Linked DNA regions of Homo sapiens: region 1 is linked to region 2. The links are contacts of gene promoters, found by promoter capture Hi-C in human tissues and cell types (Jung and others, 2019). All regions are on one chromosome and are shown on one strand. Each heading gives the region's core, a stretch centred on a gene start or on the middle of the fragment in contact. The rest is flanking DNA. Distances are from core to core; before and after follow the strand shown. Region 1 has its middle 32 kb from the start of CSF1. Region 2 holds the start of GSTM4 (glutathione S-transferase mu 4).

What was found. Contacts are between HindIII fragments. The study calls those that stand out against the background at their distance.
Region 1: a fragment that was not itself captured here is called in contact with the fragment with the promoter of GSTM4 in region 2 in 1 of the 25 tissues and cell types used here (mesenchymal stem cells).

What each region holds. Positions count from the first base shown.
Region 1 is chr1:109,939,603-109,946,293 of GRCh38, forward strand. No RefSeq gene overlaps it. Among named protein-coding and RNA genes, the nearest start is that of CSF1, 32 kb to the left of the region's middle. The HindIII fragment of the contact is 5,826 bases long and covers 2,025-6,691 here.
Region 2 is chr1:109,654,849-109,657,348 of GRCh38, forward strand. It overlaps GSTM4 (glutathione S-transferase mu 4), which reads left to right and starts at 1,251. Exons shown (of 8, transcript NM_000850.5): 1 at 1,251-1,577; 2 at 1,864-1,939; 3 at 2,367-2,431. The coding sequence starts at 1,542. RefSeq lists enhancers at 969-1,018, 1,892-2,477. The HindIII fragment of the contact is 7,232 bases long and covers 1-2,500 here.

The DNA.
Region 1 (6,691 bases), core at 3,688-6,187, 290 kb after region 2:
CTCATCTCTTTCCCTCAGCAGTTTATCTGATGAAAAACTTGTTTATTTGTCCCATAGAGTTTCCCAGAATCTGAATTTTTTTGGTTGCAGCCTCAAAGTGTCACTAACATGTTCCTCTGTCACTTATATTTTCTACAAATTTGGAAATTCAATCTATAGATTTAATCAGGTTCTGGATCAGTTTTTTTTGTAAGAACACTTCATAGGTGCTGTTGTATACTTTGATCAGAAGGTTATATAAAACCAGTTTCTCCTTGAAAACACCTTAAATGTCTGATACTAGGAGAATAGTTATATAATAATAGTTCATCATTTACAGTGGAATTTTATGCAATCATTACCGGTCATAGTTTTTAAAGAATACTGAGTGATATAGGAAATGCTAATCATATAATGTTAAGGAATAAATGAGAATAGAAAATACACATGGGGCTGGGCGCAGTGGCTCATGCCTGTAATTCCAGCACTTTGGGAGGCCAAGGTGGGCAGATTACTAGAGACCAGGAGTTCGAGACCAGCTTGGCCAAGATGATGAAACCCTATCTCTACTAAAAATACAAAAATTAGCTAGGCATAGTGATGCACATCTGTAATCCCAGCTACTCAGGAGGCTGAGGCACAAGAGTCACTTGAACCTGGAAGGTGAAGTTTGCAGTGAACCAAGATCACACCACTGCACTCCAGCCTCAGCGACAGGGCAAGACTCTGTTTCAAAAAATAAATAAATAAATAAGGTAATTCATATATCTGTGCATAGAGAAAAGATTAGAAGGAACCATTAATTGCAAGGAAAAATGACTGTGTTAATGGAGGCTATTACTAAGAGTTAGAATTATGGGTGATTTAATTTCTTTCTTTATTCCTTCTACATTTTCCAATTTTTAATAATACATTTATATTACTTTTGTAATCTGAAAAAATATTTTATAAAACTTGTATTTTTGTAATGAAGTTGTGATTTTTCTGAAGTCATCCACAGCAGGGCCAGGAACTGGTACCAGTCCATAGACTGTTAGGAACCAGGCCGCACAGCAGGAGGTGAGCAGTGGGCCAGTGAGCAAAGCTTCATCTGTATTTACAACCGTTCCCCATTGCTGGCATTACCACTTGAGCTCGGCCTCCTGTCAGATCAGCAGCGGCATTAAATTCTCATAGGAGCACGAACCCTATTGTGAACTGCACATGTGAGGGATCTAGATTGCACACTCCTTATGAGAATCTAATGACTGATGATCTGTCATTGTCTCCCATACCCCCAGATAGAACTGTCTAGTTACAGGAAAACAAGCTCAGGGCTCCCACTCCCTCTACATTACGGTGAGTTGTATAATTATTTTATTATATATTACAATTTAATAATAATAGAAATAAAATGCACAATAAATGTAATGCACTTGAATCATCCCGAAACCATACCCCGCTCCCTGGTTCGTGGAAAAATTGTCTTCCACGAAACCAGTCCCTGGTGCCAAAAAGGCTGGGGACTGCTGATCCACAGAATGGCAAAATGCTACCTTGAGGCAAGATCTAAACATACTAAACAGTGTGGTCATAGAACAAATTGCTAGTCCGTTGCTGGTTGGTCACTGGTTGTTTGATGACTCTGAGTGGTTATTTTGGTCACAGAAATTAGTCTGCTGGTCACGGGAGCCTGGCAAGAGTGGAGAAGGGTTCATTAGGAAGGCCAAGAGAGAAGATCCTTTGGTTCAGCTGGTCTGGCCGGTAGACTTGAGTCTTCAGAAAGCCCAGTCTCACTGCCCTGTGCCCTCTGTCAAATCGTTCACCATGAGACCAAATCACTCACACAGCCACAGAGGCGCGATCCCTCTAGCAGCAAAGATCTCCAGCAGGGCTAGACTAGTGTAGCAGCTATGGGAGGCATGCCCAAGGGTCCTGCCACCAGGACAGCAAGGCCAGACTTGAAATTTGACCAGGACAGAGGAAGATGTGAGATTTCCATTTCTGATTTCAAACTTCTTCTCCTTCCTGGTCGATGTTAACTTACATCAATACCCTGAACAAAGGAGGCATCAGATACTGATCTGTAAGAAAAGAGGATTAGATTTTAGGATCTCTGAAGCCCCTTTCCAGCTCTGACACTCTAATCTTTTCTGGACTGGTTTCCTCCAAATTCTATAAACCATTTAAACTCTAAGAAGAGACATTTTTTGTTTCCTCATTCATAAGTACTAATTTAAATCTATATCCCCACATATAGACCATCTAATTGCAGCAATGTGTCACATACACAAATCTACTCATCATGCCGCTCCACCCTTGGGAGACCACAGATCACTAGGACGACCATTCAATCAACCAGTCTCTTCTATGGTGTTCATGTCTTCCTTTAAGTGGATGATTTATTTTAAAACTTTTTTTCTTTTTATAAAGTTAGCATGAGCTGATAATAGATAAATAGGAAAATACAGAAAACTATAAATAGGAATATAAAAATCACTCTTGGTTGGGCGCGGTGGCTCACGCCTGTAATCCCAGCACTTTGGGAGGCCAAGGTGGGTGGATCACCTGAGGTCAGGAGTTGGAGACCAGCCTGGCCAACATGGTGAAACCCCATCTCTACTAAAAATACAAAAATCAACCGGGTGTGCTGGTACATGCCTATAATCCCAGCTACTTGGGAGGCTGAGGCACAAGAATTACTTGAACCTGGGAGGCGGAGGTTGCAGTGAGCTGAGATTGTGCCACTGAACTCCAGCCTGGGTGACAGAGTGAGACTCCGTCTCAAAAAAAAAAAAAAAATCACTCTTAACCCCACCGTTCAGGAATAACTACTGTCAACATTCTGTTGTATTTCCTTCTAGTATTTTAATAGTATGTTTATATCTTTACATAGTTGATATCATAATGAATGTACAGTATTGATTTTTCACATAATGTCATAATCATGAACATTTTTCCATGTCATTACGATTCTTTGTAGACAGCTTTTTACTCTTTTACCTTCTATGTTTTGTGAATTCAAAGCTTTCAGACAAGGCCAGGGAGGAAAGAGAGTTCATGTGTCTCAGGACTGGGAGAGAGATGATAAGCAGTTCTGGGAACCAAATATTCTGAGCCAAAAATTGAGCCACAAGATCTGACCGAAGTGACCTTGGGTAAATAATTTAATCTCTCTGTGACTCAGTTTCCTCATCTGTAAATTGAGGGTGATAATAGCACAGTTTTTACTTCTAAACTGTCCTGGAAAATGGCACCATCCAAGTTGTAGTTTTTATCATTTGGGAGACACAGGTATTTCAGAAGCTGTTGCTCGGTTGTCAAAACATTTGCATGTCACTGTAATGTAGGGATTGTGGGGTAAAATATTTGAAATCTTAACTGTCTTGGGAGATGTAGAATAAAAGATTACTCCTACCTAGAGGAAAGGGTATGGAGAAGGGAGTGAGGCCGAGGGACAGAAAAAGAGAAAGAGAGAGTCCTTCTAGCAAATTATCAGGGAAGAATACATAGAGGAGGAGACAATTTAAGTGGGCTTTAGAATCTTCCTTAAAAGTCATAACTCTTTGAGTTAAAAGCTCAAATACTGAGGTAGATGAACGTCATCTGACACTCCCTCATCACCAGACTGGAACTCCATTCACAGGGCCTGCCTACCACCCACCACACAGACCAGCAGAGAGAAGGCGCTCAGTTAACGTCTGTAGAGCTGATAAGAGCAAAATGGAAAGAGAAGACGAATACAACTTCCAGAACAATTATTCCCCTTTTTTATTTTTTATTTTTATTTTATTTTATTTATTTATTTTTTGAGATGGAGTCTTGCTGTGTCGCCCAGGCTGGAGTGCAGTGGCGCAATCTCAGCTCACTGCAAGCTCCACCTCCCAGGTTCACACCATTCTCCTGCCTCAGCCTCCTAAGTAGATGGGACTACAAGCCCCCGCCACCATGCCTGGCTAATTTTTTATGGAGTTTCACCATGTTAACCAGGGTGGTCCCGATCTCCTGACCTCGTGATTCGCCCGCCTGGGCCTCCCATAGTTTATTTTTTAACCAAGAACCAAACCCTGAACCAGAATTTTTGTTCTAGTGCAAGTATTCTCCACCAATTTTTCAGCACAATGTTATTCGATATGAGAATATCAGCAGAGGTCCAAGTAGAATGTACTTTAAACAGCATTTGGCTTTTTGGCTCACAGTGAATGCTCATCTGTCCCAGAAACTATTGTCTTCATCCTTTGCATGATTTAACAATTAGCAATTTTCTTTTTGTTTTCCTTTTTTTTTTTTTTTGAGACGGAGTTTCGCTCTTGTTGCCCATGCTGGAGTGCAATGGCGCAGTCTCAGCTTACTGCGACCTTCACCTCCCTGGTTCAAGCGATTCTCCTGCCTCAGCCTCCAGAGTAGCAGGGATTACAGGCACCCACCACCACACCTGGCTAATTTTTGTATTTTTAGTAGAGACAGGGTTTCACCTTGTTGGCCAGGCTGGTCTCAGACTCCTGAACTCAGGTGATCCATCCGCCTCGGCCTCCCAAAGTGCTGGGATTGCAGGCATGAGCCGCCGCGCTGGCCAACAATGAGTAATTTTCTAAAACAAAAAACAAAAACAAAACAAAAAAACTCCAACAGTATTTTTTAAAGGGAAAAAAAACACGAACAAGTTTCAGCTCCTAACTCTGCCTTGTGTTGAAATAGAACTGATGGAGAAAGGAGCAGCGATTGGAGCCACACAACCTGGGTTCTGCTCTGGACACCTTAATGAGGAGCTGGGATGAGGTGGTGGAAGCAAGATTAAGAAGGGCTTATGGAAAAGTTAAGATTTAGCCCTATGAAGGTGCCAACTTCCCCACCACTGAAATTCCTCATCATCTAGAGGTTCAAGTCACCTACAAAGGACGCAGGTTATCCCTTCACAATCAGGGCCCAATCTATCATTTAACCGTTTAACCTCATCTCCAGCCACTCACATTCACATTCACATCTAGTAAATGTTCTTCCTCCTTGCCCTTCCTTGGGCTCTCGCTCCCCTTCCCCTTCTCACATCTACTTCCTGTCCCACCACAACCTGCTAAAATGTCCTTCCTCTAGAAAGCTGTGTTGATCCTGCTAGCTGAGTTCATCTCTTCGGTCACTCCATCTGAATCTCCAGTATGTCTTTTATGTCTTTCTCATATGCCTTCAAGCTACTTAAGTGAGTGTCTTGTGGTTTTTTTATGTCTTCCTCATATGCCTTCAAGCTACTTAAGTGAGTGTCTTGTTTTTCTTATACCTAATTACAATAACACCTTTTATTTCTATAATGCTTTACAGATTACAAAGCAAGTTGGCATATATTTTATCACTTGGTCCTCACATCTGGTGAAGCAGCTCTTTCTATCGTTTACATAGAAGGACCTAAACCCAAAGAGGTTAAATAACTGGTCCAAAGTCATGATAACCCAGAGCTTTTATGCTAGCTCTCCCCTGCTGGACTGGAAGTTCCTTGAGGGCAAGAACCCTGCCTTAATTATTTTCATATCCCATCAAAACCAACACAGGAGCTGGTTCAGAGCAGATGCTCAGTAAATGAATATGTATGACCCTGGCCAATCCCTTCACCTCTCCACACCTCACAGTGCTAGGTAAAGATGTTCTTTACGTCCTTCCCAGATTCCTTTATGGCAAGAGTCAATAGCACCACTTCTCTGTATTCCCTTCTGACACCTGGATGAGCTGCATATCTGCAGGGCAATTGTCAGGATGTCCATTCCATTCTGTGCCTCTTCTTTCACTAAACACTAATGTATTAGTTTCCTATTGCCGATATAACTAATTGCTGCAAACTTAGTCACTTAAAACAACACAAATTTGGCCGGGTGTGGTGGCTCACACCTGTAGTCCCAGCACTTTGGGAGGTCAAGGTGGGTGAATCACTTGAGGTCAGCAGTTCTAGGCCAGCCTGGCCAACATGGTAAAACCTGGTCTCTACTAAAAATACAAAAATTAGCCGGGCGTGATGGCTCAGACCTGTAATCCCAGCTACTCAGGAGGCTGAGGCAGAAGAATTGCTTGAACCAGGGAGGCAGAGGTTGCCATGATCCAATATGGCACCATTGCACTCCAGCCTGGGCAACAAAGTGAGACCCTGTCTCAAAAACAAACAAAAAACCCCCACAAATTGATTCAATTTATTATCTTAAATATCTGGAGTTCAGAAGTCTGAAATTGGTCTCAGTGGGCCAGAGTCGAGGTGTGGGTCGGGCTGGTTCCTTCCAGACACTCTGAGGGGGAATCTGTTTCTTTGACTTTTTCAGCTTCTAGAGGCCTCCTGCATTCCTTGGTGTGCGCTCCCTTCCTCCGTCTTCAACGCTCATCACACCAATTGCAGCTTCTGCCATCACATTGCCTTCTCTTCTGTGGGGAGATCTCCCCCTGCCTTCCTCTTATAAGGACTCTTCTGATCACCTTTAGGGCCCACCTGGGTAAGATGGCATTCCTAGTTTCCAGACACGAGGACCTGGATCTGTTTGGGAGACATTATTCAGCCTACCGCAATTATTATTACACCAACAATTTACCTATTATTTGTATATTTATCTGTATCTCCAGTACACTGTGAGCAACTTGAAGACTAAGACTGTACCTTATCTACCTCTCTATTCTCGTCTCCTAACATGGCTCCTCAGATACAGTAGGTGCTTAATAAATAATGATTGTGTGAATGAACAATCCCATACTTACAGACTTCTAT
Region 2 (2,500 bases), core at 1-2,500:
CAGGCACCGCTTCTCTCTCCTACACTCAACCCCTCTCCCACTCCACTGCCTCTCAGTGTGCAAAAACAGTAAGAAGTGTCCCGTATTTTCAAAATCTCTCCCCTGTAGTTCCCACCTGACTTCTAGTCGTAGGTGGCCAAAGTACAGTGTTTTTGAAGGATTGTTTTATTCCCAGTGCCTGGAATATGGTAGGATCTCAACAACTGTTGTTTCAATAAAGGAATGACCAAATGGGTGAATACTAATGTAACAATATCAATTCTGTTTCTTTCATAATTATTCTCATAAGTGTTAGCTTTCTTAAAAAATCATCTTCACAATTGGACCTAGACATTTTATCTTTCCCAGCTCAAGATGGATAAACTCAGAATGACAGGCCAGGCACCGTGGCTCATGCCTGTAATCCCAGCACTTTGGGAGGCGGAGGCGGGTGGATCACTTGAGACCAGGAGTTCAAGACCAGTCTGGTCAACACGGTGAAATCCCATCTCTACAGAAAATACAAAAAAGTTAGCAGGGCGTCGTGGCGCTCGTCTGTAATCCCAGCTGCTCGGGAGGCTGAGGCAGGAGAATCGCTTGAGCCCGGGAGGCGGAGGTTGCAATGAACCGAGATCGCCCTACTGCACTCCAGCCTGGGCAACACAGCGAGTCCCCGTTCCAAAAAAAAAAAAAAAAAAAAGACTCAGAATGACACATTCTTAATGTCTTAATGTATAATGAGAAGTATAACTATTCAGAAGTCCAAGCACTTGTGTGTGCATGGTGCTATCGTCTTGCTGTAGGCAAACCTACATGGGAATCCACCTTGACACATAGGCCACTTCCTGAGCCTGGACCCAGTCTCAGAGCTGGGGAACTGGCCCAATGCAAAAGGGTCGGGAGCATCTGCAACAGAGACTGAGCTCTATCAGCTTCGGTGACATAGCCTCCATTCACGCTCCCCAACTCAGCAGAGAGAGCACACCATCAGACTTCTAAGACTTAGTAGCCAAGAAGTGTTGAATTAAACTCTCTGAGACCTCTCTTTAGTCTGACCCTGGCAGCCTCAGTCTCCCAGAGCCTGTGGGAACTCGGCAGCCGAGAGGCAGAAGGCTGGGCGACGTCCGGAGAAGAAGAAACGGGGGAAGAACTTTTCTCTTACGATCTGGCTTTACTCTCACGCGCACAGCCGAGTCCCTGGGGACCCAGCAGAGGTCCGAAGCGGAGCGGGGCGGGGCGGGGCTACGGAAGCTGGCGAGGCCGAGCCCCTCCTAGTGCTTCCGGACCTTGCTCCCTGAACACTCGGAGGTGGCGGTGGATCTTACTCCTTCCAGCCAGTGAGGATCCAGCAACCTGCTCCGTGCCTCCCGCGCCTGTTGGTTGGAAGTGACGACCTTGAAGATCGGCCGGTTGGAAGTGACGACCTTGAAGATCGGCGGGCGCAGCGGGGCCGAGGGGGCGGGTCTGGCGCTAGGTCCAGCCCCTGCGTGCCGGGAACCCCAGAGGAGGTCGCAGTTCAGCCCAGCTGAGGCCTGTCTGCAGAATCGACACCAACCAGCATCATGTCCATGACACTGGGGTACTGGGACATCCGCGGGGTGAGTGAGGGTCCGCTGCACTGTGGGACCGGGCGCGTGGGCGGGAAGTGCCGAGCGGCTGGGGACCGGCTCTAGGGACGGTTCCCTCCTTAGGGCTATCTCTCACAGGAGGGCCTGTGCATGCCTGTGTGTGTGTGTGTGTGTGTGTGTGTGTGTGTGTGTGTGCGTGCGCCGGGGTGGGGGGGGGGTGCAGTGCAGTGTAGACTAGGGGCTCACCTGGTGCAGAGAAAGTCACCAAGTCAGGGACCCTCCATCTCTGACACGACCTGCGGGCCATCTCTTCCAGCTGGCCCACGCCATCCGCCTGCTCCTGGAATACACAGACTCAAGCTACGAGGAAAAGAAGTATACGATGGGGGACGGTAATGACACCCTTGTGTCCGGGCTCTGCCCACTCACGCTGAGTTGGCACCAAGCAACCCATGGTGGCCACCTGTGGCTACCTCTGCAGGCCTCCCCTGCTGGAGCTGCAGGCTGTCCCTTCCCTGAGCCCCGGTGAGGGAGTCCTGTGGCCTTGCAAGGCAGAATGCTGGGGCGGGATGCTGGGCCCCCTGTTTAATTGGGTTGGGTGTCCCTCAGAGCTTCCCTAAACCCTGGAAGCCTTAGCCGTGTGGGGTCCAGAGCCCTCAGCGGGATTCTTTGTCCCTGAACCCTGGGATGTGGGACTGAGTGGTCAGATTCTAGATCCACCTGTCTCAGGGATCTTGCCACTGGTTCCTTGGGAGGGTCCCCGGGAAGGAGGGCTGGGCTCTGGGGAGGTTTGTTTTCACTTCTTCTTCCCCACGGCAGCTCCTGACTATGACAGAAGCCAGTGGCTGAATGAAAAATTCAAGCTGGGCCTGGACTTTCCCAATGTAGGTGCAGGGGAAGGGGCGGTTTTGGGGGAAAGTGCGACGTGTCTCTGACTGCATCTCCTCTCCCCA